Linked DNA regions of Homo sapiens: regions 1, 3, 4, 5 and 6 are each linked to region 2. Evidence: promoter capture Hi-C in 16 types of primary human blood cells and fetal thymus (Javierre and others, 2016). All regions are on one chromosome and are shown on one strand. The core of a region is centred on a gene start or on the middle of the fragment in contact, and the rest is flanking DNA. Distances in the headings are between cores, read along the strand shown.

Region 1 (4,892 bases), core at 2,240-4,739, 230 kb before region 2:
TCATGGGGGCAGTTTCCCCAATCCTGTTCTCATACTAGTCAGTGAGTTCTCGCAAGAGCTGATGGTTATATAAGGGGCTTCCCCCTTCACTAGGTACTCATTTCTCTCTCCTGCTGCCGCGTGGAAAAGGACGTATTTGCTTCCCTTTCTGCTATGATTGTAAGTTTCCTGAGGCCTCCCAAGCCCTCTGGAACTGTGAGTCAATTCAACTTCTTTCCTTTATAAATTGCCCATTCTCGGGCAGTTCTTTATAGCAGCATAAGAACAGACTAATATAGATGGGATGCAGAGACCATTTAGGATAGTTACATAAGAAGGAGGTTCCAGAAATATCTAGGAATAGGAGCCAGATTGTAAAAGTTTCAGGGAGGAATTGATGGAAAGAAAAGAGTGTTGTCAGCACTATCCTCACGATTTAGGATTTGGGGAGTGAGAGAAAGGAGAAAGGTAGGGTGGTAACTAAGGGAGCAGCAGGTTCTAACAAAGCTTAGACCTAGCCTTGGCATGCTGGCAGCAAAGCAGGAGCCAGTGGAGACAGGGGAGAGGAGAAGATGAGAGGGAGGCCTGGGGAGAGTGGGGAGGAGTGGGGCAGGGAAGGGTTGGGGCACAGCCAAGACCCATCTATTTAACTTTACGAAAAGGAGAAAGGGGCTAACTTGGGGAATGGGCTAGTGTCATGCACTAAGCAGGCCTCATACTCAGCACTCATGTTCTTGTCTTTACCAGTTTTTGGAAACTGATTCTAAAAGGATAATATGCCTAATAAAAAGAACAAATCAACTTATTGCTCTAGAAAGCTCATAATCATCCATTTAACTTATTTCCTTTACCTGTTTTATGCCAGTGTTGTTCTCAATCCTGGGGATGAGGCAGTAAACTAAACAGATAAAGCCCCTGCCCTCGTGGAGCTTACATTCCCGTGGGAGAGAAGACAATTACCAATTACCACGGAACACAATTTCAGGGAGTCATAAGTGCGGTGAAGAAATAGAACTCAAGCAAAGGAGGTAGCAAGGCTGAGGAGGGGAGCTATTTTATACGATGTGGTCAGAGGAGGAATCTCCAGTCAGATGACATTTTTCTTAGACCAGAAGAGCATAATTTAGTGAATGGTGGGCATAGTAATCAAAGTTCAGGATTAGCCTCAGGTCTACCTGAGACATGACTTCTATTCGTAAGTCCCTATTAAATGTTTCTTTCTGAGAGGGGGAAAAAAAAAAGGACCTTTCAGGATTAATGATCCTGTAAAACACAACCTTCTAAGAACATAAATAAATAAAAGAAATCCAGGCTAGTTATCAATTATGCAGTGGCATTTCCCAACTAAAGATTTATTTGGGCCTCAAATCAACCTTCCCTTAATCCAAAATCTGACTTGTCTCATTATAAACTGTGACTTAACATTTATTTCTGGTTCTAAAATCAGAATTTTGGAGAACTGAAGGATACAGTTGGTATTATAATATTTCAATTTCTGATAAGTTTCCATGAAAAACAATGGGACAAACTAAGAAAAGCCTGAAACAAATGGCTGGGATGTCTAAAATGTTTTAAATCTCTTTGTAATTTAATTGTTGATCAAACATGGTGCTGTGTGTCTTCAAGTGCCGAGCACTGACCTGGGCACCAAGGGTACAAGTTTTTTTGTTTTTTTTGTTTTGTTTTGTTTTGTTTTATTATTATACTTTAAGTTCTAGGGTACATGTGCACAACGTGCAGGTTTGTTACATATGTATACATGTGCCATGTTGGTGTGCTGCACCCATTAACTCGTCATTTAGCATTAGGTATATCTCCTAATGCTATCCCTCCCCCCTCCCCCCACCCCATAACAGGCCCCGGTGTGTGATGTCCCCCTTCCTGTGTCCAAGTGTTCTCATTGTTCAATTCCCACCTATGAGTGAGAACATGTGATATTTGGTTTTTTGTCCTTGCGATAGTTTGCTGAGAATGATGGTTTCCAGCTTCATCCGTGTCCCTACAAAGGACATGAACTCATCCTTTTTTATGGCTGCATAGTATTCCATGGTGTATATGTGCCACATTTTCTGAATCCAGTCTATCATTGATGGACATTTGGGTTGGTTCCAGGTCTTTGCTATTGTGAATAGTGCCGCAATAAACATACGTGTGCATGTGTCTTTATAGCAGCATGATTTATAATCTTTTGGGTATATACCCTGTAATGGGATGGCTGGGTCAAATGGTATTTCTAGTTCTAGATCCCTGAGGAATCGCCACACTGTCTTCCACAATGGTTGAACTAGTTTACAGTCCCACCAACAGTGTAAAAGTAAAAGTGTTCCTTTTTCTCCACATCCTCTCCAGCACCTGTTGTTTCCTGACTTTTTAATGATTGCCATTCCAACAGGTGTGAGATTGTATCTCACTGTGGTTTTGATTTGCATTTCTCTGATGGCCAGTGATGATGAGCATTTTTTCATGTGTCTGTTGGATGCATAAATGTCGTCTTTTGAGAAGTGTTTCTTCATACCCTTCACCCATTTGTTGATGGGGTTGTTTGTTTTTTTCTTGTAAATTTGTTTGAGTTCTTTGTAGATTCTGGATATTAGCCTTTTGTCAGATGAGTAGATTGCAAAAATTTTCTCCCATTCTGTGGGTTGCCTGTTCACTCTGATGGTAGTTTCTTTTGCTGTGCAGAAGCTCTTTAGTTTAATTAGATCCCATTTGTCAATTTTGTCTTTTGTTGCCATTGCTTTTGGTGTTTTAGACATGAAGTCCTTGCCCAGGCCAAGGGTACAAGTTTTTAACAGCCCTGTCCTTTAAGATCCCACTGCCAGGCTGGGTGCGGGACACACATCTGTAATCCCAGCAATTTGGGAGGCCAAGGCATGGTGCATCACTTGAGGTCAGGAGTTCAAGATTAGCCTGGCCAACATGGTGAAACCCCATCTCCACTAAAAATATAAAAATTAGCTGGGTGTGGTGGCGCACATCTGTAATCCCAGCTACTCTGGGGGCTGAGGCAGGAGAATTGCTTGAACCCTGGAGGCAGAGGTTGCAGTGAGCCGAGATCATAGCACTGCACTCTAGCCTGGGTGACAGAGTGAGATTCTGTCTCAAAAACAAAAACCACTGCAAAAAATCAAGATCCCACTGCCAAAAGGCCAAAAGGGATGGCTGTTGGAAAATTAATTACATCAAGATGGCTACAACAGAACATGGCCAAAGTATTTGAGAATAAAACATCAGAGGAAGTAGCATCTCGGAGAAAATCTGCTGTAACTTTTCCAATTGCTCTGTAAAGAAGATACTTCTCAATCTCTTTCTTAATCATCCATTATGCTGAATTTGGCTCTATTGAATATTTCTTCATTTTAGAAACTCTTTATGTCCTATTTACCCTGAAACCTCTCTCCCTTTTTCTCGAACCTTGCTGAATTCAGCCAGATTGGCAAACATGCCATATTCTTTTTATGATCTCAGTAGCTAGCAAGATACCTGACATATGGTAGGTACTCAACAAATATTTGCTGAACTAAACCAAACCAGGTCATGCCTTGACAAAGCTCCAAGAATTCTTACTCAGGTTCTTCCTCTGCCAGACCCTTGCCACATCTTCCCACACTACATTCATTCACTCAGTAAATATATGTGGAATGGCTATTAAGTGCCAAGATCTGTTCTGATAAGATAGAAATGTACAGAAAAGGCTTCTTTCCATACAAGAAACTAGGGAAGCAGAGTTAAAATAGCTACCTTGGTATTAAAAAAAAATTCTGGCTGAGCACAGTGGCTCATGCCTGTAATCCCAACACTTTGGGAGGCTGACATGGGTGGATCACTTGAGGCCAGGAGTTCAAAACCAGCCTGGCCAACATGGTGAAATCCCATCTCTACTAAAAATACAAAATTAGCCAGTGGCACACACCTGTAATCCCAGCTACTTGGGAGGCCGAGGCATGAGAATTGCTTGAACTGAGGAGGTGGGAGTTGCAGTGACCTGAGATGGCACTATTTGCACTCCAGCCTGGGTGAGAGAATGAGAGTCTGTCTCAAAAAATAAATAAATATAATAAACAATTTTAATATATATAGAGGCTACCATAAAGGAGCTACTCTACATACTCATTTTTTGAGATCAAATTTACTTGATAAACTTAATTTTATGATTACATAAAAGGGCAAAAAAAAATCTTTTCTGAGAGCCAAGGATACAGCAAAACAGGCAAAAATCCCTGCCTTGATAGAATTTACATTTCAAAGTAGGACACAGATAACTAAAATATAGAGCATGGGAGAAGGTGCTAAGAGATGTGGGGGAAAAAATAGGTTTATTAGGATTTGACCAGAGAAACAAGACCATTAAGAGGTATTCACAGTGGTGGGCTGGAGCTGGCTAGTACTGGCCTGAGAGAGCTATCAGCATCTTCTCTCTTCTCCCCATTCAGTGATGTCACATTGGTGGCTTGAAATTGGCCATGGTAAGAATATTTATACCAGGAAAATTGGCAAATGCTACAAATTAGGGTTTTTTTTTTCTTTTTCCAGAAAGCTGGTTGTTAAACATTTATCCGCATACCACAAACATAAACATGTGTAATGGCTTATTATAAGGACTTATTGTAGGGATTTGCCTACATGCAAATGTGGGGGCTGGTTAAACAGTCTATATGGAGGCTATTGCTTCTGTGTCAGGCACTAGTGCCTGAAATCAATAGGGCAGGTAGTCAAGAAAGGAAGATGGGCTGGGCGCGGTGGCTCACGCCTGTAATCCCAACACTTTGGGAGGCCAAGACGGGTGGATCACGAGGTCAGGAGATCGAGACCATCCCAGCTAACATGGTGAAACCCCGTCACTACTAAAAATACAAAAAACTAGCCAGGCATAGTGGCGGGTGCCTGTAATCCCAGCTACTCGGGAGGCTGAG
Region 2 (4,968 bases), core at 274-2,773:
CCCAGCCCGCCAGACACAAATGCCTATCTGATTGTTCCCCTACCCCATTTTGTCTGTTATCTTATGAAAAATGCAGACTCCCACATTCTTCCTCTGCCCATTTTATGTCATCTTATGTAAAAAATGCAGATTCACTGAGCCAGAGAAAGGCAAGAATTACTATTTTCTCCTACCGCCCCCTTACATGAAAACGGTGTGCTTCTCAATATCCCGCCCTTTCCCCTTTAAATTTGGAGCACTCAAAATCATCTTCGAAGAAAGGCATAGACCTGTTTCCTGGGCTCGTACTTAACTTCGGCAAATAAATCTCCTAAAGTGATGGACTCTCTTATAAATTAATCTGTAGCCAAGGCATGTCATCAATATGTCCTACTGTGCCTTCCTACCTCCCATTTATCAACTTACATGAGAAGCACACATCTTACTTGTCATAAATTATTACCTTAGTGAAAACCTGAGGGTGTCAAGAAGTCGAAAAATTTGAGACATTGACGTTGGGGAAGACACCTTTAATTAGAGCACCATAAAATCATGATAGAATGATACATTTTTCCTTGCCTTATATTTTTGGCATGCAAAACAGAAGGAGCTCAAACAATTGAGTGACACATTAGTAAAATTCCTTTCATTCATTTCTACTTACAAGGCACACACCATTGACCTCACCCCGTCCCCCCCTTTAAAACAATATTTGACCCGCGCCCCCCCCCCTTTAAAGCAATCTTTGAAAAGTTAGGAATGAAAGCCGGTTCAGGACAGTACACAGTACACAAATACTGGCTTCCCCTACCTCCACCACAAGCAAGTAAACATCCTAGCACAGTGTAAAAAGGAAGAGGCTGAGGACGAACCACGCGGACATTTGCAGGCACACCCCTTCCCTGCGACCAACAAAAATGCAGTAGCGCAATTACACTTGAAGGAATTGCAGCACTCACAAAAGCACACATTCTGTTCAATGGTTGAGTCCACATAAAGTGACAGTCCGTTTCTAAAAGCATGGCTGTATTTAAAGGACACATGGTCTGTTCAGGTCCGCTTCAGCGAAACCCCAAGCACTTCCGAGAGATCCACTCCCTCTCTCCGAGCAGGTGCCACTAGCTGCTCCGCCGGCGAGCGTAGGAAGCAGCGCGACCAACCAAATCGGTTGCCCACAACAGCCAGGGACGTCAAAAAGGCCAAACTGCGTGGGAAGCGAGCGTGCGCCTCCATCACCACGACAGCACCCGTCTCGAGGCTCCACCTGCCGCTAGTAGGTGGCTCTCAGCTCTGCTCTGCTAAGGGCGAGCTTGAGAACCCGGCCTACAGTTGTGCACCTCCCCCCGCCCCCGCCCCCGCCCCCGCCCCCGCCCACCGCACTTGTAGCCCCGCCCCGCCCAGGGAGCTTCCGTCACAACACTTCCGGCTCCAGCCTCCCAACCGGCCTCCGTCGTTTTTCACTTCCCTCTCCTCAGCTCTCTTCCCTTGCCCCTACCGTCTCCTTTAACACAGTCACGTGAGGGACGCGCGCGGGGGCAGCTGGGAGTAGTACTGCCGGTTGGTCAGGGTTCGGCCTCAACATGGCGGTTCCGGCCGGGCAGTGACCAAGGTTTTGCCGTCCGAAGGACTAAGTGGTGACTGTCGGCGTCTCCACCTATCGGGGTGGAATGCGAGCACGCGGGGACGAGCGCTGAGAAGCGGCGGTGACGGGAAGGGGGGGGTCAGTGGATTGTGCCCCAGAAACCGAAGCGGCGGCGTCTGTTCCTTCTTGTTTCTAGGCTCCAGTGCGTTCGGGGCCCCGCCCGGCCGGGCCAGGCCGGCGGGCGGCGGCGGTAGCTGCTGCAGCCGCAGGATAACCTCGCAGGGTGGGCCGGAGGGCGGGCGCCGCCGCTGCCTGTGCTGCGGCGATGGCCCAGTGTGTACAATCAGTGCAGGAGCTAATCCCGGACTCCTTCGTCCCCTGTGTCGCTGCGCTGTGCAGCGACGAAGCCGAGCGGCTCACTCGTCTCAATCACCTCAGCTTCGCGGAGCTGCTTAAGCCCTTCTCCCGCCTCACTTCCGAGGGTATGTGGTATCCTCCCTTTTCCAGTGGGCTCCCGCAAAGCCGTGGTCGGGAGAAGGAAGTTGCGGGCGGGCAGGGAAGAGAAGGGCAGTGTTTACGTCCTGGAGCCGGTACCGTGGCGTCTGGGGCTGTGGCCCCGCGGTGCTCCGGGGGCGGCTGGAGGAGGGACCGTGAGGTTGTCAAGACAGCGCAGTCCTAAGCTCCAGTTTCTCTGGGCACTTCCTTTCTTCCTCGGACAACCTAGGTCGTTAAGTAATTGGTGCAAAGATAAACGTGAGTCTTCGAGAACGGCATTGAGACTGTTCTCCACGGCCATAGCGAAGGAATTAGGCACTTGCAAAGCAGCTAAGGTAGGAAAATGCTGCCTCTTAGACCGACAGGGTCTGAGTAAGGAAGACCTGTCATCCTCCCTTGGATGTTAAACTGGACTTTGAAAGTAGTTGTGGATGTTATTACATTCTTGTAGCGTTGAGGGTCATCTCTGTCTGAACTACCGTGTAGCTGTTTTACTAATATATTCTTAGCTATACGGTATTTTGCTTAACCTCTCAAGAAAATTAAAAGTATTATAAGAAGAATAAAACTTGAAGCAGCTTTTTGCCCTAAGGAAGAGGAAGCAAGCCCAAGTTGTGGTTAATTTAACCTGGATATTTGGAGTTATCTATAGTTATAGGGATGGAAATGTCTTCTCTTGTTAATGAATGTCTTGTTAAGAAGCTACCCGTTTTCTCCAGTTTTGGATTTTTTTATTAGGAGAAAATAATGTGGTAAAGCTTCAAGCATGTTTTAGCCAATATCTTGCAAACAACAAAGTCCAAGTAAAGTTTTTTTTGTTAAGGTCGGTAAGAACTGAAGGGTTTCATAATAAGCCTGTGTCAGGCAAACGACTGTGATGTTTGTTAGCTTAATATGACTTATCCACAAAAAAAATCAGTGCTGTACCATTTTTGCGCTACCATGTTTTTTGGGAGAATAGTTCCATTATAAATTAGCTTTTGTTTTTAGCGGAGAGAGGGAGCTGTCCAAAAAAACAAAGTTTGGAAACTTTTGGATTTTCTTTAGCCTGTATCGTAGCCATCAGTCTCAGTTCCTTCAGTGTTGGACTTAAGAGCAACAAAATGCCCTACGTTTTTTATTTTTTTGTTATTTATTTATTTATTTATTTTGAGATGGAGTTTCGCTCTTGTTGCCCAGACTGGAGTGCAGTGGCGCGATCTCAGCCCACCGCCACCTCCGCCTCCCAGGTTCAAGCGATTCTCCTGCCTCAGCCTTCTGAGTAACTGAGATTACAGGCATGCGCCACCATACTCGGATAATTTTTGTATTTTTAGTAGAGACAGGGTTTCTCCATGTTGGTCAGGTTGGTCTCGAACTCCCGACCTCAGGTGATCTGCCCGCCTCGGCCTCGCAAAGTGCGGGGATTATGGGCGTGAGCCACCGCGCCCGGCCTTGAATTCCTAAAAAAACACAAACACTTGAGCTAGTTTTACTTTTATATGTGTACTCTTTCCTTCTTTCTTAATAAATAATAATAATGCTAATACCTGATACTTGCTTTGTGTAACTTTTCTTTTTTAGTCCTCATTGAATCCTGTTATTGCAATTTTAAATTTGAGGACCTTGAAGCATAGAAGTGTTAATTTGTTCACAGTTTTGCGTCTGGGAAAGATTTGAAACAGGCAGTGTGACTCAAGACATTGTGTTCTTAATCATCTTATCTCCTGACAGTATTTAGAATTATGTATTTACACCATAGAGCAGTGCTGTCTAATTGAAATATAATGTGAGTCACAGGTATAATTAAAAAATTTTCGGCCGGGCGCGGTGGCTCACGCTTGTAATCCCAGCTCTTTGGGAGGCCGAGGCGGGTGGATCACGAGGTCAGGAGTTCGAGACCATCCTGGCCAACATGGTGAAACCCCGTTTCTACTAAAAATACAAAAATTAGCTGGGCGTGGTGGTGGGCGCCTGTAGTCCCAGCTACTCGAGAAGCTGAGGCAGGAGAATCACTTGAACCCGGGAGGCACAGTGAGACTCCATCTCAAAACCAACCAAACAAACAACAACAACAAAAAATTTTAGTAGCCACATTAAAAAAGTAAAAAGAAACAAGTGAAATTAGTTTTTTTGTTTTTTGTTTTTTGGAGATGGAGTCTTGCCCTGTTGCCCAGGCTGGGAGTGCAGTGGCGCGATCTTGGCTCACTACAACCTCTGCCTCCCAGGTTCAAGCGATTTTCCAGCCTCAGCCTCCCGAGTAGCTGGGATTACAGGCGCTCACGGCTTATTTTTGTATTTTTAGTAGAGACAGGGTTTCACCATGTTGGCCAGGCTGGTCTCGAACTCCTGACCTCGTGGTCCGCCCGCCTCCGCCTCCCAAAGTGCTGGGATTACAGGCGTGAGCCACCGTGCCCGGCCGAAATTAGTTTTAATACTGTATTTTATTTAACTCAGTATTTCCAAAATGTTACTATTTCAATGTGTAATCAATGTGAAAAATATTCATGAGATATTTTACATTCTTTTTTATTGCTTAGTCTTTGAAATTTGGTGTGCCTTTTATACTTAACATCTCAATTTGTACTAGTCACATTTCAAGTACTCAGTAGCCATATGCAGCTGTTGCCTACTGTATTGGACAGTGCTGTGATAGCGGCTCATTGTCAGTACACTTCTGATTTCCTTCAGGAGACTGGGGAAGATTAGGGAAGGAGTTTTTTTGTTTGTTTGTTTTTTGTTTTGAGACAAGGTCTTGCTCTGTTACCCACGCTGGGAGGGCTGGAGTGCAATTGTATCACCATAGCTCCCTCACCCACTGCAGCCTCAACTTCCCAGGTTCTAGCTATCCTCTTGTCTCAGCCTCCCAAGTAGCTGGGACTACAGGCACATGCCATCATGCCTGGCTAATTTTTAAATTTTTTGTAGAGATG
Region 3 (4,502 bases), core at 615-3,114, 190 kb before region 2:
TGATGAGATCCATGGTGATATTAATATAATTGCTACAGTACAAAAAGTGAGTAAATATTTGATAGATCTCCATAACTCAGTGCACCATCTTTTGGACTGACCATCACATAATGCTATGCAATCATGTGCAGGTAAAAGGTCCATTCAAATACAGGATAGATCTATGGATTTTCCTGTTAAGTGTACAAAAAGTTTGATGTGGTTCGGATTACAACTAACTTTTAAGAATTTACTATTTGTTCGGGAGGCTGAGGCAGGAGAATTGCTTGAACCTGGGAGGTGGAGGTTGAGGCGGAGGTTGCAATGAGCTGAGATTGTGCCATTGCACTCCAGCCTGGGCAACAAGAGCGAAACTACATCTCAAAAAAAAAAAAAAAAAAGTTACTATTTGTTGTTTTTGTTTTGATGCAGTATGTAAGAATACCCAGCCAACTTTTTTTTTTTTTTTTTTTTGAAACTGAGTTTTGCTCTGTCACCCAGGCTGGAGTGTAGTGGCACAATCATGGCTCACTGCAATCTCAACCTCAACCTCCCTGGGCTCAAGAGAACCTGCCACTTCAGCTGCTGTGGGTAGCGGGGACTACAGGCACATGCCACCACACTCATTTAATTTTTGTATTTTTTTTTTGTAGAGACAGGGTTTTATCACATTGCCCAGACTGGTCTCAAAGTCCTGAGCTCAAGCCATCCGCTCGCCTCGGCCTCCCAAAGTGCTGAGATTACAGGTATGAGCCACCTTACTGGAACTCAGTTATCTTTTTTAAAAGGCTATTAAAATATTCCTCCCTTTTCCAACAACATTATCTGTATGAGACTAGATTATCTTCATATCCTTTAAGCAAAATAACCCACAATAGGTTGAATGCTGATGCATATATGAACAATATGAACAATCTAGCTGTCTTCCATTAACCTAGATATTTGAGAGATCTGCTGAATATTTTTGCAAGTTATTTTCCATTACAAATGTTAATGATAATGTAATGAGCTTATTATTTTAAATGTTAATGTTTTCACTTTGTCAATTCCCCCTTTTTTTTTTTTTTTTTCAAGAGACAGGGTCTCATTGTGTTGCCCAGGCTGCTCTTGAACCCCTGGCCTCAAGGGATACTCTTACCTTGCCTCCTAAAGTGCCGAGATTACAGCCATTAGCCACTGGGCCTGGTCCACTTTATCAGTTTCCTATGTGACAAACATGTGATAAATACAGTCATGCATTGCTTGATGACAGGAATATGTTCTGAGAAACGTACCATTAGGTGATTTCCTCATTGTGTGAACATCACAGAGTATATTTACACAAACCTAGATGATATAAGCCTACTACATACCTGGGTTATATGGTGTGGCCTATTGCTCCTAGGCTACAGAACTGTATGGCATGTTACTATACTGAATACTGTAAGGAACTATAACACAGTTTATCTAAACATATCTAAACATAGAAAACATATCTAAACATAGAGAAGGTACAGTGAAAATACAGTATTATAATCTTAAGGGACCACCATTGCATATGTGGCCCATCAACGACCAAAATGTCGTTATGTGGCGCATGACTATATTCACAAAAACAAAACTGCTTTTGGGTTCTCAATAATTTCTAAGGGTAAAGGGCTCCTGAGGCAAGAAGTTTGAAAAGTGTGAGTCTAAGTAAACCTAAAATTACTTCATAAACACAGAAAATGCTGTTGTGATATATCAATTCTATCTGGAAACAGAAACAGTTGGTATAGAGTAGTATTCTCAACCATTACTCATAAAATTTTCAAAAAGCTCAGAAAAACTATTTTACACCCTTTGATACTACCAAATAACCTAGATAATCATATGTAAGCTAGTCAAGTGATTTGCTAATGTTGCAAAATAATTTTTTTCCTAGAGACAATAGTTTCATTCTAATTATTAAAGAACCAAACATGTTTAAAAATGGGTGGGTTAAGTAAATTTCTCATCATACATCCTAGGTATACATTCGACTGAGAAGTATGATCATCAGCTGATTGTTCTTTATTATTTTTTCTTTTTTTTTTTTTTTTTTTTTTTTTTTTTTTTTTGAGGAGTCTTGCTCTTGTTGCCCAGGCTGGAGTACAACGGCGCAATTATTTTAAGATATGTTTTATTCAGAATTCCTCATGTGTGGGGTATTTGTACTTCTTGGAAACAAAAACAGTGTCTCAGATCTTCCCACAAAAGTTGAGGCTAGCAAGCCAGGTATGACGCACACCTGCAGTCTCAGCTACTCATGAGGCTGAAGATCCCTTGAGACAAGGAGTTTAGGTTCAAGGGATCGAGGCCTTGAGGCCAAAGCAGGAGGATCACTTGAACTCAGGAGTTTGAGACCCACCTGGGCAACATGGCGAAATCCTCTCTCTACAAAAAATACAAACAGTTGAGGCCAGCAAATAAAGACTAGTAACCCTTTAGACTCTATATCCTTAAGGGGGAAAAAAAATCCAGACTGTCTTGACAGGATTTTAGACTAAAGTAGGACCTGACAGATATAAATACAATAGGTTGACTTGTATTGGATACACAGTAACAATAAACGTTAACATGCTCTGTTCCAAGCTCTTTGTAATATTAACTAATTCAATCCTCACAAACCATAGAGGTAAAAAGGGCTACGAAATGTGTCCAAACTACACAAGTAGCAACCAGCAGAATCATCAAAAACAGGTTGTCTGGTCCAAGAAAGTAGGCTCAGTTGTTTTAAATGCTTGGTCTTCTGGCAAAGATCTACCCAACACCCTTCTGTATCTGCTGCAACCGCTTTTGTTTCTATTGGTGGCTTCAGATCCTATCCCAGAAAATATTGTCCTTAAATACTCATTAAAATCTCCTATTTCCCATGATTTGAGGGAGCCTAACAAAAAAATAAAATAGAAAAATAAAATTCTGTACCTACAAAAATGCCTTGAAAAGAAAACATCCAGGCCGAGGTAGGGCACGGTGGCTCACGCCTGTAATCTCAGTACTTTGGGAGTCTGAGGTGGGCGGATCACCTGAGGTCAGGAGTTTGAGACCAGCCTGGCCAAGATGGCGAAACCCTGTCTCTACTAAAATATAAAAATTAGCTGGGTGTGGTGGCGCATGCCTGTAATCCCAGCTACTCGGGAGGCTGAGGCAGGAGAATCGCTTGAACCTGGGAGGGGTTGAAGTGAGCCGAAGTCAGGCCGCCGCACTCCAGCCTGGGTGACAGGGCGAGACTCCATCCCCCCAAAAGATAAAAGAGCATCCAGGCCCTGCGCGGTGGCGCACACCTGTAATCCCAGCACTGTGGAAGGCTGAGGTGGGCGGATCACTTAGGGCCAGGAGTTTGAGACCAGCCTGGACAACGTGGTGAAACCCATCTCTACTAAAAGTATAAAAATTAGCTGAGCATGGAGGCGCACGCCTGTAATCCTAGCTACTCAGGAGGCCGAGGCAGGAGAATCGTTTGAACCTGGGAGATGGAGGTTGCAGTAAGCAGAGATTGCACCACTGCACTCTAGCCTGGGTAAGAGTGAGACACTGTCCCAAAAAAAAAGATAGAACATCCCATACACAGCTCATGGAAAGTCAGGTAAGAGCAGCGGAAGGCCATTTGGCTAGACTCTTCACTTCCTTCCTCAGTTATGAGGGGAAGACCAGCCTGTTTTGTTTTTACCTACATTTGGCATCCCCAGGTACCAGCATACATAAAAGAATCACTTGTAATACATTTAACACAACTTTTACAAATACTAAAATATAACTTTAGAAGACTAAGCTTTTCTGTTCTGGACAAAGGACAAGTCACTGCTGCTGTAAATGCAAGAAAAAAACAGAAAAATCTCAATGTTATAAAAGCCAAATATAAAATAATATTTACTGTGTGCTTCCACTTAACACAAACCCATTTATGGTATTAGAAGTTATGTCGTGATAATACTTAGTTGTGACTGGAAGTAGAAACAAAAAGACTTAGGAGATTCTAGCAATTTTTTTTTCTTGACTTGAGCATGGATTACTTCAGGTTATTGTTCACTTTGTGCACTTTCAGTATCATGTGCCATTATTGCCCACTTAGACTAATACGAAATCTCCCTCACATCCTATTTTCTTCCTCTCCATATCCTCCACCAAACGGCTGTGACTCATCTGCTTACCAGTCTTCCATATTTATTCCCCTGCCTTGCTTGTCCTTAAATTCTGCAGGATGTCTTTCACTATTACAATCTTAAGAATTCCTGTTTTTTGGCCGGGCATGGTGGCTCACACCTGTAATCCCAGCACTTTGGGAGGCTGAGGTCAGGAGTTCAAGACCAGCCTGACCAACATAGTGAAACCCTGTCTCTACTAAATACAAAAAATTAGCTGGGCACGGTGGCGTGTGCCTGTAATCCCAGCTAAGATAGGAGAATCGCTTGAACCTGGGAGGCGGAGGTTGCAGTGAGCCTAGATCATGCCATTGCACTCCAGCCTGGGCAACGAGAGAACTCCGTCTCAAAAAAAAAAAAAAAATTCCTGTTTTTTGTTGA
Region 4 (4,721 bases), core at 1,513-4,012, 170 kb before region 2:
TACATGGGAGGCTGAGGCAGAAGGACTGCTTGAGCCCAGGAGGTCAAGGCTACAGTGAGCCATGTTCACGCCATTGCACTCCAGGCTGGATGACAGAGCAAGACCCTGTCTAAAAACAAAACAGAACAAACAAAATAAATTTAAAAATTTAAAAAAAAAAAAAAAAGCTTTTCCTTCCTTTGCCAATTTTCTTACTGACTAAAAATCCACATACAAACTCAATTCTTCCATTGCAATCAGAACTCCGCAAAGGATATAGAAATAAATAAGACTAAAAAGCTCATTCTAGGTGAAGAGACAGGCTGAAATAAATAAATACAATAAAGTTTAGAGATCTAATAGCATAAAGAACAGTTCTACCAAGAAGAAGAAATTCTAGAGCTCAGGAAGGATTTTACTGAGTAGCTAACACTTGGTCTAAGTCTTCAAGGAGAAGAAAAAAGTCAATCAGCTGGCAAAATGCAGGTTGGGATATTACTGGTAAAAGTGTGGAGGTGAGGGAGTGATAATGAGGATGATGAGGAAGAACTAACATTTTCCAAGCAAAGTACTAGTCAAGTTTCTTTACCTGTATTAACTTATTTATTAACTTCAACTCAATGAGGACCTATCATCATCATCGCCTCTCATACCTTTCCTTAAACACATGAGACAACTGAGGCAGTTTCTTGACAATGTAATACAATTAGTAAGTGACATCTGAAATTTGAACCCAGCATTCCGGCTCCAAGCCCACATTTTTAACCACAGTCATACTGTTTTTCAAGAATGGCAAAGAGAGGGAACAAATAAATCAACATGGCTAAGGCATGTGATGCAACGATGGATAACCAAGAAAGAGGCTATAAAAAGAGAGGAAAGGGCCAGATCAGAAAGGGCTTTGGAATAAGGAAGTGTGTGTGTGCGTGCGTGCGTGTGTGTGCGTGTGTGTGTGTTTTAGACGGAGTCTGACTCTGTCGCCCAGGCTAGAGTGCAGTGATGTGCTCTCGGCTCACTGCAACCTCCGTTTCCTAGGGTCAAGTGATTCTCCTGCCTAAGCCTCCCAAGTAGCTGGGACTATAGGCACGCGCCACCACGTCCAGCTAATTTTTGTATTTTTAGTAGAGACAAGGTTTCACCATGATGGCCAGGCTGGTCTTGAACTCCTGACCTCAAGTGATCTGCCCACCTTGGCCTCCCAAAATGCTGGGATTACAGGTGTGAGCCACCGCGCCCAGCCAGAATTTTGTCTTTTATACTTCATTAATATTACTTTGGCGATAGAATGTAAAACAGATTAGAGGATAACTACCAGCTAAAAAGGCTATTATCATAGTTCGAGTGAGAGATGATGAGGGCCTGAGCTAGGGAAGTGACAAGATAAAATAAAAGTACAGATGAGGAATATTGCTATTAGGAATCAAGTGTCTATGACCAAGTGGATCTAAGAAATAAGGGGGAGGAAGGCCTGTCTCCTGATAAGAAAATTTGGTCATTAAAAGCGTGATTACAATCATGTATACTAAGAACTTTACTAAAAGCTGGAGATATGCTCAACAAGACAAACACCATCCCCTCACTTAAGAACAATCTATTGGGTAAAAAAGCAGATAGGAAATTACAATAAAGTAGAAGTACAACAATAAGAAAAACATAGAAATGAAGAAACCCAGAAGGACTAAAAAAAAACTATAAGAGCAACAACTTTCAAACAAATTTCCTTGACACTAACAAGTCAAGTAAAATGAGAACCTGAAGTTTTTTCAGACTAGGCAATCAGAAAATTACTGCAGATCTTTACCAGACAATCACTAAAGGTTTTTACCAGAAATTTCAACTGAGTAGGGAAGACGCCTAATGTAGTATGATCAACATGAAGTGCTTAAGGGCGGTTAAGTTACTAAAAATTAGCAATATGTAAAATGAAAGGCTACTAAAATAAAATATTAGAGACTGCTTAACATACTGTCTCCTGGGAACCTTTCTATAATAGTGGCAATATTGTCTTTCCTTACAGTTACGTATGTGCTTACTACTGAAGTTTTCAAAATTAACAATGCATTGTTTAGGGATACATGCATGGGTGATGATACATAAAGAAAATCAAAGGAATGAATAATCCAAATAAGAGAATAGTGGTTGCATCTAGGAGTGTACGGTTCAAATGGGCAGGAGCTCACATAGAGATCCTGAAGTTTTGAAAAATGTTCTTTCTTGACCTGGGTTAATAGGTAACTGGATGTTAATCATTATTTTTTTAAACCACAAGTGCATTTTGGCCATTTTTCTGTGTAAAATACATTTCATAAAAATGTTTAATGTACATGAATCTGAGATAAGATACAAATCAATCCAAATCTAGTTGTTTAAAAGAAATGAGACTCAAACAGAACTGCACTGCACCTGGTTTCATTTTTACATGACATTTTAGAATAAAAATTTCAAACTCTAAGTCTATCCCTTAGATAGCAAAGAAAAAACAGGTTGTAGTTTGCAAATACATTACTGAAAAGGATTTTCTATAGTTTTTCAAATCATTTCAGTTGCAAAATCAGTAAGAGAAAAATCTCCAACTTATTTTTTACTCAAAAAAATGAAAATTCTTAGAATGATTTTAAATAACATAAGCTGAAGTTCATGAAGTCATCTCCCAGATGAGAGCTTACGTGTGCCAAACAGATTTTAAGGCAAATGCTGTAGTTCTGATACTTGGCAATTCACTTTAAAAACACATGTGCACATACACACACACACATCCCCCCAAATACCTTATCATATAGTTCCCAAAACAATTTCCATTTCAATTATGAAAATTCTGTATTTAGGAATAAGTATTGCTTACCTGTTCCCTACTGAATCTTGAGAGATCTGAAAGTTTGGAATGATAGAAGAAACACCATATTCATCCTGATACTTCTTACAAGATTTGTAATGATGTCTCATGCGATAGAATTTAATCTGTAAATTATTAAAATGTGACTTTTAATTTAAAATAGAACTCGTAAGATTTGAAATAGTGTAAAGAGAGGAAAAAATAAAAGTAACTAAATACTCCATTTAAACAGGAGTTGTATTTTTTTAAAGTAAATGATTTCATCCTTAAGTAGGAGTTAAGAATAGATAATACATTTCTGTTCATTAAATGTAGAGATGGAGAAGAGTCCATCTGTCTATAAATTCACTGCAAAAAACAGCAAATAACTTCACACTTGAAAAGACACTACCAGCAGTAGACAAAAAAATTAAAAGCACTAAGAGGATGCCAGATGCTATTGGGCATGTCTTATTATTTAACTTCTGCAGCCTGGCAGAGTTAGAAAGCACTTAAAAAAAAATTAAGTTCCTGGCTGGGTGCAGTGGCTCGCGCTTGTAATCCCAGCCTTTTGGGAGGCTGGGATGGGTGGACTGCTTGAGTTCAGGGGTTCAAGACCAGCCTGAGCAATATGGCAAAATCCTGTTTATACAAAAAATACAAAAATTAGCCAGGTGTAATCTCAGCTACCTGTGGGGCTGAGGCAGGAGGATTGCTTAGAGCCTGGGAAGTCAAAGCTGCAGTGAGCCGAGATTGTGCCACTGTACTCCAGCCTGGGTGACAAAGTGAGACCCTGTCTCAAAAAAAATTAAGTTGCCAGGAATACTTGGAACATTTTTCAGTTTCTCACTGAGAGGAATAGCCAGAATCTCTCGAGTGTGTTTTCCAGCTTCACGTCATTGCCCTGTCAGTTAAACACTTCCTTCAAAAAGATGTAAAAGCAGATCTGACTTGTGTGAATGCATGAAATAGCAACCAGCTTTGCTCACTGAATTCATTAGCTATTAGAAAAAATGTCGGTGATAAATCTATAGACACATGGATATACTCAAAGCCTAACCACCCCTCTCTATTTTATTCCTTCTCCAAATGATAGAATAAAATCCAGATTAGAGAATTAATGCTGGTTATTTGTTAACACCTGATTTTCCTACATGTTCCTTAAAATTAACCAAATATTTTGTGATTTCTTTCTTCTTCTTTTTTTTTAGACAGCGTTTCGCTCTTGTTGCCCAGTTTGGAGTGCAATGGCGCAATCTCAGCTCACCGCAACCTCTGCCGCCCAGGTTCAAACAATTCTGCCTCAGCCTCCCAAGTAGCTGGGATTATAGGCATGCGCCACCACACCTGGCTGATTTTTTATTTTTAGTAGAGACGGGGTTTCACCATGTTGGTCAGGCTGGTCTCGAACTCCTGACCTCAGGTCATCCACCCACCTTGGCCTCCCATAAGTGCTGGGATTACAGGCATGAGCCACCATGCCCGGCCCTTGTGATTTCTTAAATACATACATAAATACATAAGTAAAGTGAGGAGCTAGAGAGTTCCTTAAACTACATAAATCCATGTGCCCAAACTAGTAACATTTCTATGTGTAAAGCTGCAATAATGATGCTACCATGAGAAAAACTTAAGGGGTGAATTTGTACCAGAATGGGGTTTAAATGAGCTAAATGCCAGCTTGCTAATTTAGTTACTTTAGCAAGTAATCAATGAGAAATTACTTTTAGAAAAATGCCACGCTAAGTATTATGAAATTCAGTGATTTTTTTTTCAGTCTCATTTCTCAGTAAGTTTATAATCTAGTAAGATCTATGACCACAGCTTTTTTTGGCCTTTTCTATCCAATTCCCAGTCTAAATACCTTTCATCTTTTCAAAAAAAAAAAAAACACCAACCAAGAAAATTCAAATAAGAATTTCAGAGTAGA
Region 5 (4,538 bases), core at 711-3,210, 180 kb after region 2:
GCCAAGATGGTGCCACTGCATTCTAGCCTGAGCAACAGAATGAAACTCTGTCTCAAAAAAATTAAATAAATAAAATAATAGAAAGTTAGATTAGACGTCTCTGAGCTTCGCTGAATTGAAAAGTGGGGTTCTCTGTCATCAACTAATATTACTTCTCACAAAGCCTAGGGTGTGGAAAACATATCAGAAGATAAGATAGGAGTCAGAGAGAAGCTTCATTCCTGTTCTTTTAGGCTTCTCCCAAACATCTTGCAGACATTTAGCAGCCTGAGAAGGGTGACAATGGTCTCCATTGTAAAGAGTCACCCATCAGACATAACCAAGGGGCAAGGGCCAAGTTATCTGTGCTTTGAGGGTGCTGGTTCTGCCCTGGGGCAGCCAGCATGGACAACACTAGGTTGAGGACTAGGTGGGATAGCAGAGCATTAGGGCCTGTGCTGAGACAAAAATCCCGCAATAAAGGGTCTGGAATCTAGGACTGTGACCAAACATATTTGACTTGGGCCATCGGTCAGTAGAGTTGCCTAATTTTTTTTTTTTCTCTTTTTTGAGATGGAGTTTCGCTCTTGTTGCCCAGGCTGGAGTGCAATGGTGTGATCTCAGCTCACTGCAACGTCCGCCTCCTGGGTTCAAGTGAATCTCTTGCTTCAGCCTCCCAAGTTGCTGGGATTACAGGTGTGCACCACCATACCCGTCTAATTTTGTATTTTCAGTAGAGACAGGGTTTCACCATGTTGGCCAGGCTGGTCTTGAACTCCTGACCTCAGGTGATCCCCCACCCCAGCCACCTAAAGTGCTGGGATTACAGGTGTGAGCCACCGCGCCTGCCTGAGTTGCCTGATTTCAAACTGTATAGTTACATTGCCCAAGAAACTGCAAGCTTGGACCAAAAAAAGGTGGCAATGGCTCAACTTCCAAAGCAATTTTCCAGCTCCTCTCATCTGCACCAATGGCAGTGGGCTGTGTGGCTTCAGAGGGGAACACCTCCTAATACCTTTCTAGGTCCCAGTGGTTTGGGTGGTGGGCGGGATGGGAGGTTTACCTCCTTCTGCCCCATTTACCTGACAAGTGCAGGATGAGGCAAGTGACTCAGGTTTGATTAGTATCATTTTCCATCCCCCTGATCCCAGTGATTGGTTCAGACCAACTAACTGCAATGAGACTCAATCCTAGGGTTGTTTTGCAGGAACTGTTGGGAAAGTGAAGCACTTCATCCTTCAGTTGCTAAATTAGCAGAATAAGCTTCAGGTAGGATGTTACTCTGTAGAAAGAGCTGACTGAAAATGAAGTTAAAACTGAGGAATGTATAGCTGGGCAATATATACGTGGAGAGGGATGTTAAGTACTTGTGATGGTGGTTGAACCTCTAGGATCCAGCAATGCCTAAAGTGATTGCTACTTCTGGATTTCTCAACTTTTTCATTACACGAACTAATACATTTCTCCCCCCACTTCACTTTTTATTGTTATTTTCTCACTGAAACTGCCTTTCTTTCCTCTCTTGCAAAGGAATTCACTTGCCTCATCTGGCACTTGGGTGCTGAGGACAGAAGGAGGTAAGTACCCCCCAAAATCAGCAGGATCCAGAAGGGTATTCGGAAATGTTCTCCTCTGTGGCCACATGGCCCACTCCTACTGGTGCAAATGAGAGAAGCTGGAAAATTGCCTTAAATGTTGCCCAGATGCCACCTTTTTAAATCCTTTCCTGATTTCTTACCTCCTTCTCATCTTCCTTCTTCCTTCTCCTTTCCTTACCCCCTAGATTTGCTTGCTTCAGTTGGAATGGTATTTTTGGCTCTTATAACCAAGACCCATGAGTAATACAGAACTCATCAACACTCTTTACACTCTTAAGCAGTTGGAGACCTAACCAGATGCCTGGACACTGGGGACACAAACTGGAATAAAGTTCAATGAGAAGTGGACTGTGTCTTCAAGAAGCCCTCAGCATTGTGAATCGTGGACATTGTACAGTGTGACACGTGCCACACTCACAGTGTGTATAGGGTGTGTTGTGGAGAAGGGGTCCTCATTTGGACTAAGGAGTTAGCGAAGGCTTCCAGAAGCTGAGTAGGAACTAGAAGTAAGGACATTTCAGGCAGAGGCAATAACCGAATAAAGACAAAGGAGTGTCAGATGGCACATTATTCTTCATTCTGGAGACCCCGAGTAGTTTGATATGGCGGGGACGGAAGGTGCCTTTAGAAATGTGAAGGCAGATGGCGCCAAGGGTAGGAAAACGTCAGACCATGGGGGACCTTTGTCCTTCAGGTGTAAAATCATTTAAAGATTTAAGTGAGGGAAAACGTGCTCACGTTTGTTACTAAGATGACTGCTTTGGCTGCAGTGTGGAGGATGGATTGAAAAAAAGCAATTGTTATCTTACCATAGGATCATGAGAATCTCTCTTCAATAAATGCGAGAAAGGGCAGTCTGTTTTTCATGATATACTGATTGCCAGCATCTTGACAGAAGGGCTATGGCAAAACCGAGAAAACACTATCAATATTAGGCAAAAAAGCAAAACAAAACAAAAGAAAGGAAAACAAAGATCTCTCTAGCCCCAACAGTGCTAATTTTTGCATACCCAGCAATTACATTTCTAATGAAAGTCATTGCTGCCAAAATCAATCAGTATAAATGTTGGAGACTCCCTTCTCTTTCCGTGAAAAGCTTTTACTATTTCGTTTCACTAAAGCTTAAAGAGAACTTCGGGTTTATGGTTCATTCTAGAGCGATCCACCATAGGCGTGCTTTAAGATGATGGTCAGGGAAACTGTCATTTAATCTCAAGGAAGCTGTCATTTGATTCTATTCAAAAACTAGGCAGTACACATCAGCAGGCAATGTAGTCTGATGCTGTGACCTACTTTGTTGGCTGAAGCCTTCCACTGTTCCTGGAAGGGAAGTTATTTTTGTTTCCTTTCATCTCTCATTCACATACATGGAATATACACATTGGTTACTCTAGAAAACACATGGGTAGTCCTAGAGCAAAATGGGTTTCAAGGTTATTTAATTTATGCCTCTTAAAACCTCAGACACTTTCCTCCCAGTAAAATTTCATGTGGTATACAGAACTTTTTTTAAAAAAAAAATTCATCTTCTCCTTACTTCTCCTTACCACCTACTTTTTTCTTTCTTTTCTTTTTTCTTTTTTTGGGTAGAGACAGGGGTCTTGCTATGTTGCCCAGGCTGGTCTCAAATTCCTAGCCTCAAGCGATCCTCCCGTTTTGGCCTCCCAAGGTGCTGGGATTACAGGTGTGAACCACTGCACCTGGCCTACTTTTTTCCCTTTCAAGAAAATACAGTACTCCAAGGCCTGAGTGACTATGAAATTTCAACTTTTGTGCCTTTGTACTCTTAGATACCATGTTTGTTTTGTTCTTCTGCAAGATTACACTAAAATCCACTTTTCTTGTATGTATACACTATTTAAAAAGTTTCACAGTCTCTTAGGGAAGCCACTGGCAACACATCTTCACAGTGTCCGTGGAGAAGGTTATGTGATTTAAGAAACACTTGTGTCTATACCATTTAATATTTAGGAATTTGTTGATTTTTTAGGATCTTTGGATGAATGAGTTTTTAATTTTATCCAGCTTATTTAGAAGAAATTGCCATGCTTGCTTTAAAAGGGTTTCTTCTCGGATCCCAGCGGCGCCCAGAGCGTCACGCTGCGCCCCCGCCCCGGGGTCGGTCATGGTCTGCGCCTGCGCAGGTCCCGGCTTGCTCGCAGTCCTGCGGGGCGCCGGCGGCGATGGGTTGGGGAAATGGACGCCTGGAGAACGGAAATCCAGTTATCAAAATGGACTCGGGAAGAGAGAACCTAACAGAACAATAACAATGGAAGAAATTGGGAACATTATCACAAAGCTATCATCCTGCCAAACTCCAGGCTCAGATGATGTCACAGGTTAAAAAATGCCCTTCATGAGAAAGATCTTAAGCAACATGATAGATTCAGAAGCTCATGAAAAGAGGCCACCAATACTTACATCTTCAAAACAAGATATATCACCTCATATTACAAATGTTGGTGAAATGAAGCATTACTTGTGTGGCTGCTGTGCAGCCTTCAACAACGTCGCAATCACATATCCCATTCAGAAGGTCCTCTTTCGGCAACAGCTGTATGGCATCAAAACCCGGGATGCAGTACTTCAGTTGAGAAGGGATGGATTTCGAAATTTGTATCGTGGAATCCTTCCCCCATTGATGCAGAAGACAACTACGCTTGCACTTATGTTTGGTCTGTATGAGGATTTATCCTGCCTTCTCCGGAAGCATGTCCGTGCTCCAGAGTTTGCAACCCATGGCGTGGCGGCAGTGCTTGCAGGGACAGCAGAAGCAATTTTCACTCCACTGGAAAGAGTTCAGACATTGCTTCAAAACCACAAGCATCATGACAAATTTACCAACACTTATCAGGCTTTCAAGGCACTGAAATGTCATGGAATTGGAGAGTATTATCGAGGCTTGGTGCCCATTCTTTTCCGGAATGGACTCAGCAATGTCTTGTTTTTCGGCCTTCGAGG
Region 6 (4,333 bases), core at 1,775-4,274, 150 kb after region 2:
GTTAACTGTCTTTTGTTATAGGAGTGTTGACACGACCCTTAATGATGAGTGAGGAACGGGATAACTGCCTTTCTAACCCCACATTCTCAACCATTCACTGAAAAAAACTTTCTGTAGTTTAGTCATTTTTCTCAGCAGTCTGGACTTGCATAGCATGATGGATTTTAACAGTTTGATTTTCAAAATTTAACCTAATTTCCCCATCGCAGGGAACCCTGACAACATTCATTTGCTGGCAAAATGAAAACAAAAATTACACCATTTTAGAGACAACGCTCTGCTATCCCTTGATCAGAGCTTGCTACCCTTCTGATTGTCCCACTAAGCTTTCTAATTGACCTTTTTTTTTTAGTGAAATAAACTTGAATTATATTTTGTCACACATCAAACCCTATTCTGACCCTTGAAGATGTTGTCTTCTTATTGTATTTACTGGAATTTAACTGTATGAATAAGTAATCCACTGATTTATGTGAGAAAATCTTTGATATTTGGATAATTTTCCAGTAATGACATCAACTAAGTTTTTATATTCTATTGTCTAAAATAAAATACTTAAAGACTTTAGCTTTCTCCAAATATTTTATAGACCAAATAGAGCTAAATGTATTCATTTGTTCTAGCAAATAAAATGCTATGAGAATAAAAATTGATATATTAGACTTCATTTAGGTTGTTGTGAGAATTATTTAACATATATTTTATTATTTTACATGTATAAATTAAAATATGTAAGGTATTTAATATAGGCTCTGGCACATATAGGCTCTTAATATATGATAGATACTTTTAGTTATTATTAAATGACTCCTAGAGCTAAGTGTCTAAGGTCATACAGGTTGTCAGTAGCCAACCAAGTTTAGAATTCAGATCTGCTGATTCCAGTCCTCGTGCTTCCCACCTCACCATGATGATTTTCTGTTGGCTCCTGGGGCAAGCCCCCGCTTCACCTGCTGAGAAAATGAAGTCATAGAATAGGAGCTCAGCCTAAGCGGGGCCTGAGAGTGCCTGGCCCACACTGCCCCTGGGACAGGCGGATAAGACCACAATTAGTTCAGAATTTGAATTTTATTATGGTGGGTACCAGGACCCTCTCTCCCAAAAGTCTGGGACCACTCTCAGGTTTCAGAAATAGAAACAAAATTCTAGGCCCACTCACCAACTGAATGGATCCCCCACTTGCCCAAGGGGACCCCAGAGAAAGCTTGGAAGCTGAGTTCCTAGCCATGATGAGATGAGAGATTGAACATCCCTCATTATACCTCCTTCCTTGCTGACGTCATTAGGGCTTTCTTCCCTGATGGCTAAACAGAAACTAGCCTTTTTGGTTTTTAATTTTTAAAAAATGTTTAAATTTTTATGTATTTATTTAAAGTTTTTAAAAAATACAAGACAGGGTCTTGCCATGTTGCCCAGGCTAGTCTCAAACTCCTAGGCCCGAGCCATCCTTCTTGCTCAGCCTCTCCAAGTGCTCAAATTACAGGTGTGAGCCACCTTGACTGGCCAGAAACCAGCCTTTCTGAAAGACACCACTGCAGATATCAGCCAACAGCCAGATGCTGCCCTTCCCTTTTGCAGTGTTGACACCACAACCAATCAGGCTTCCTTCCTAATGATAGACCACCTACCACAGATTGGTTCTGGCCAGTCCACAGAGGATGCATAGTGAGGGTTTTTGTGTCCTCTACTTTACTTTTTGATGTTAGAGGGCCAAGATCGGATCGTGCCAATGCCGACATTTTTTGGGACCCATGAAGGGGCATGAAGCTCAGCTGCACATGCACGTTTCTCCTCTCATAAATATTCATGACTCCTCCTACAGCTTTTTAAATGTGGGGGGTATTCATATCAGAATTACCTGAAGAACTAAGATATATTTATCTATGGCTAATTGTCCACCCTGCTTGCATAAATTCCTGTTCCCCTTCCCCCTCCCTCAAAGTGTCTGTTTCTGGCTTCTGACTGAAGGCTGTGCTTCCCAGCCTGTCAGAATTGCCACCATACAGGCTGCAAGTCTTGCTGAGAAATTAAGCTCTCCTTTCCAAATTTATGAACCTCCTTATTCTTCAGTTACAGGTTACACAGAGGAGTTTGAGAACTGCCTGACTCATAGAATCACAGATTCTATCCACAGGAAGATTCCTCTAGCTCAATGGGAAGGAACAAAGCTTTGTTCAAAGCTCATCCCTGTGACATAAGAGGACATAGAAATCAGGATTTTTTTTTTATGACTTTGTGTTCTCTCTGGGCATTACCTTCTTTCTGATAGCACATCACATATATCTCACCAGGTGAATCATATGAATTCTGGTTCATACAACCTCATGTTCCAAAAATTTTAAGTGGCTTGGGACTTGGCCGGTAGTGAGGATTTTGAATGGATTAGAAAGTAGTAAAACCTAACAGATGGACGAGGCGTGGTGGCTCACGCCTGTAATCCCAGCATTTTGGGAGGCTGAGGTGGGTGGATCACAAGGACAGGAGATGGAGACCATCCTGGCCAACATGGTGAAATCCCATCTCTACTAAAATACAAAAAATTAGCCAGGCGTGGTGGCACGCACCTGTACTCCTGGCTACTTGGGAGACCGAGGCAGGAGAAATGCTTGAATCCGGGAGCTGGAGGTTGCAGTGAGCCAAGATCATGCCACTGCACTCTAGCCTGGGCAACAGAGTGAGACTCCATCTCAAAAACAAACAAACAAAAAAAACCCCCAAAAATAAAAAATAAAAATTAGCTGGATGTGGTGGTGGGCACCTGTAGTCCCAGCTACCCGGGAGGCTGAGGCAGGAGAATCTCTTGAACCCAGGAGGCGGAGGCTGCAGTGAGCCGAGATCACGCCATTGCACTCCAGCCTGGGAAACAAGTGAAAAGCTGGTCTCAAACAACAAAAACAAAAACAAAAAAACCCCAGATGTAGCAGAAGTGTTCTAAAGCAATTAGCTGAGATATCACAAGCTACAGAAGGAAGGTCATTATGCAAATGCAGGGCCATTAAATGCCAGTCTTTTTAGCCTAATGTCAGAACCTGCCTTATACCCAAAGGATAGGGGGATAGTTGCATGTTTTCTTTCAGCACAATCCACCTCATGCTGTCTGATCTGTCCCCATTAAACCAGGCTAACGGGTTTTTCTTAACAACAAAGACCAGCAGATGGTTTCTGATGTCAATGATGTTCATCTCGTATTCTGGTTTGGTTTGCTTTCACTACCTCCCTTCTCTGCTTTGAAGGTTATTTTTTCCTCAGTTTCAGGGTCAAGGAGACTCATAAAAATATGCAAGGCAAATAATGTTTTTAAAATGTAGCCCATTTTCACCTTTTTTATGTCTCATTGGCTGTAATGTGTGTTTGTAGAGACAAAGTGTATCCATTTTGCTTCACCAGCTAACAATACAAAGAATGATAAATGGCTGTTATTCCTCCTCCTCCTCCTCCTCTTCCTCCTCTTCCTCCTCCTCCTCTTCCTCCTCCTCCACTTCCTCCTCCTCTCTTCCTCCTCTTCCTCCTCCTCTCTTCCTCCTCCTCCTCTTCCTCCTCCTCCTTCTCACAGTCTTCTCTTCTGAGAACCTGGCCCCAGTAGTGTTACCTTGCCTGAGGACTCCTTGCTGAAGGAGGAAAGGAGTAGGTACTGTAATTCTTTGTCTAGTTATTACCCAAATGAAAAATTCCAAGATAAATAGTGCTTGCATCTCAAAGGGTGAAAGGATAGAACAATGGCCTTGTGCTGTTTCTATATACTCTCTGTAACAACCCAGGCATAGGATGGCACCAAATCAGGAGGAATATAAAGGGAAGGTGTTCAAGGCAAGTAGGAAAGTGCAATGGCATGAGGAGGCTTGACAAGAAAGGGCAGACAAAGCTGCGGAGACAAGCTTCTGGTTTGGATCAGCAATCCTAGAGGGGAAATGTCTTTGAATTGGAAGCTGAAGATCTGGGTGCTAGATCAGTTCTATAGTTCTACTAGTACTAAAATCTTGCCTCAGTTTCCCTCAGCAATATAACACCACTATCTTTCCTCAGCATATAAGAGACATATGAAGCCCTTTGTAAACTGTAAAGCAGAATCTAAATAAATATGAAGTCTCAAGAGCCATACACTAGAGATAGCCCAGGTGGGAGCTACCTGTGGAATTAGGAAGCAGCTGTCCTCTGCTCTCTTTTTGCTTTTCCAACCTGCATTCCTTCTTTTCCATAAACCACAGCTTCCCAGAAAAGTACTCTCTGGTGACTGAGTTTCTCAGATTCAGTGTTTCTTCTTCCCAGGCTCTGGGTTTCTTCTTCCTGGGCTCTGATGAATGGCTTCTCATTATCCAATACCCATCTATTACCG

Evidence for each region. Contacts are between HindIII fragments. The CHiCAGO score rates a contact against its expected background, and 5 or more counts as called.
Region 1: a contact is called between a fragment that was not itself captured here and the fragment with the promoter of TRAPPC8 in region 2, in 1 of 17 cell types (neutrophils). The highest score is 6.5, in neutrophils.
Region 3: a contact is called between a fragment that was not itself captured here and the fragment with the promoter of TRAPPC8 in region 2, in 13 of 17 cell types (neutrophils, naive CD8 T cells, non-activated CD4 T cells and 10 more). The highest score is 18.8, in neutrophils.
Region 4: a fragment that was not itself captured here is called in contact with the fragment with the promoter of TRAPPC8 in region 2 in 16 of 17 cell types (neutrophils, total CD8 T cells, naive CD8 T cells and 13 more); the score reaches 24.1 in neutrophils.
Region 5: a fragment that was not itself captured here is called in contact with the fragment with the promoter of TRAPPC8 in region 2 in 1 of 17 cell types (total CD4 T cells); the score reaches 5.6 in total CD4 T cells.
Region 6: a contact is called between a fragment that was not itself captured here and the fragment with the promoter of TRAPPC8 in region 2, in 1 of 17 cell types (non-activated CD4 T cells). The highest score is 5.1, in non-activated CD4 T cells.

The regions. Positions count from the first base shown.
Region 1 is chr18:32,166,824-32,171,715 of GRCh38, reverse strand. No RefSeq gene overlaps it. Among named protein-coding and RNA genes, the nearest start is that of MEP1B, 21 kb to the left of the region's middle. The HindIII fragment of the contact is 6,002 bases long and covers 489-4,892 here.
Region 2 is chr18:31,939,683-31,944,650 of GRCh38, reverse strand. TRAPPC8 (trafficking protein particle complex subunit 8) reads left to right here and starts at 1,523. Exons shown (of 29, transcript NM_014939.5): 1 at 1,523-2,043. The coding sequence starts at 1,887. RefSeq lists enhancers at 1,539-1,748, 1,850-2,628 and a silencer at 1,799-1,918. The HindIII fragment of the contact is 12,839 bases long and covers 1-2,816 here.
Region 3 is chr18:32,132,591-32,137,092 of GRCh38, reverse strand. No RefSeq gene overlaps it. Among named protein-coding and RNA genes, the nearest start is that of RNF138, 43 kb to the right of the region's middle. RefSeq lists silencers at 2,081-2,281, 3,871-4,071. The HindIII fragment of the contact is 3,779 bases long and covers 1-3,753 here.
Region 4 is chr18:32,111,961-32,116,681 of GRCh38, reverse strand. It overlaps RNF138 (ring finger protein 138), which reads right to left. Exons shown (of 8, transcript NM_016271.5): 4 at 2,822-2,937. Among named protein-coding and RNA genes, the nearest start is that of RNF138, 22 kb to the right of the region's middle. The HindIII fragment of the contact is 5,185 bases long and covers 170-4,721 here.
Region 5 is chr18:31,760,078-31,764,615 of GRCh38, reverse strand. It overlaps SLC25A52 (solute carrier family 25 member 52), which reads left to right and starts at 3,736. Exons shown (of 1, transcript NM_001034172.4): 1 at 3,736-4,538. The coding sequence starts at 3,955. The HindIII fragment of the contact is 1,431 bases long and covers 1,245-2,675 here.
Region 6 is chr18:31,792,874-31,797,206 of GRCh38, reverse strand. No RefSeq gene overlaps it. Among named protein-coding and RNA genes, the nearest start is that of SLC25A52, 34 kb to the right of the region's middle. The HindIII fragment of the contact is 1,707 bases long and covers 2,171-3,877 here.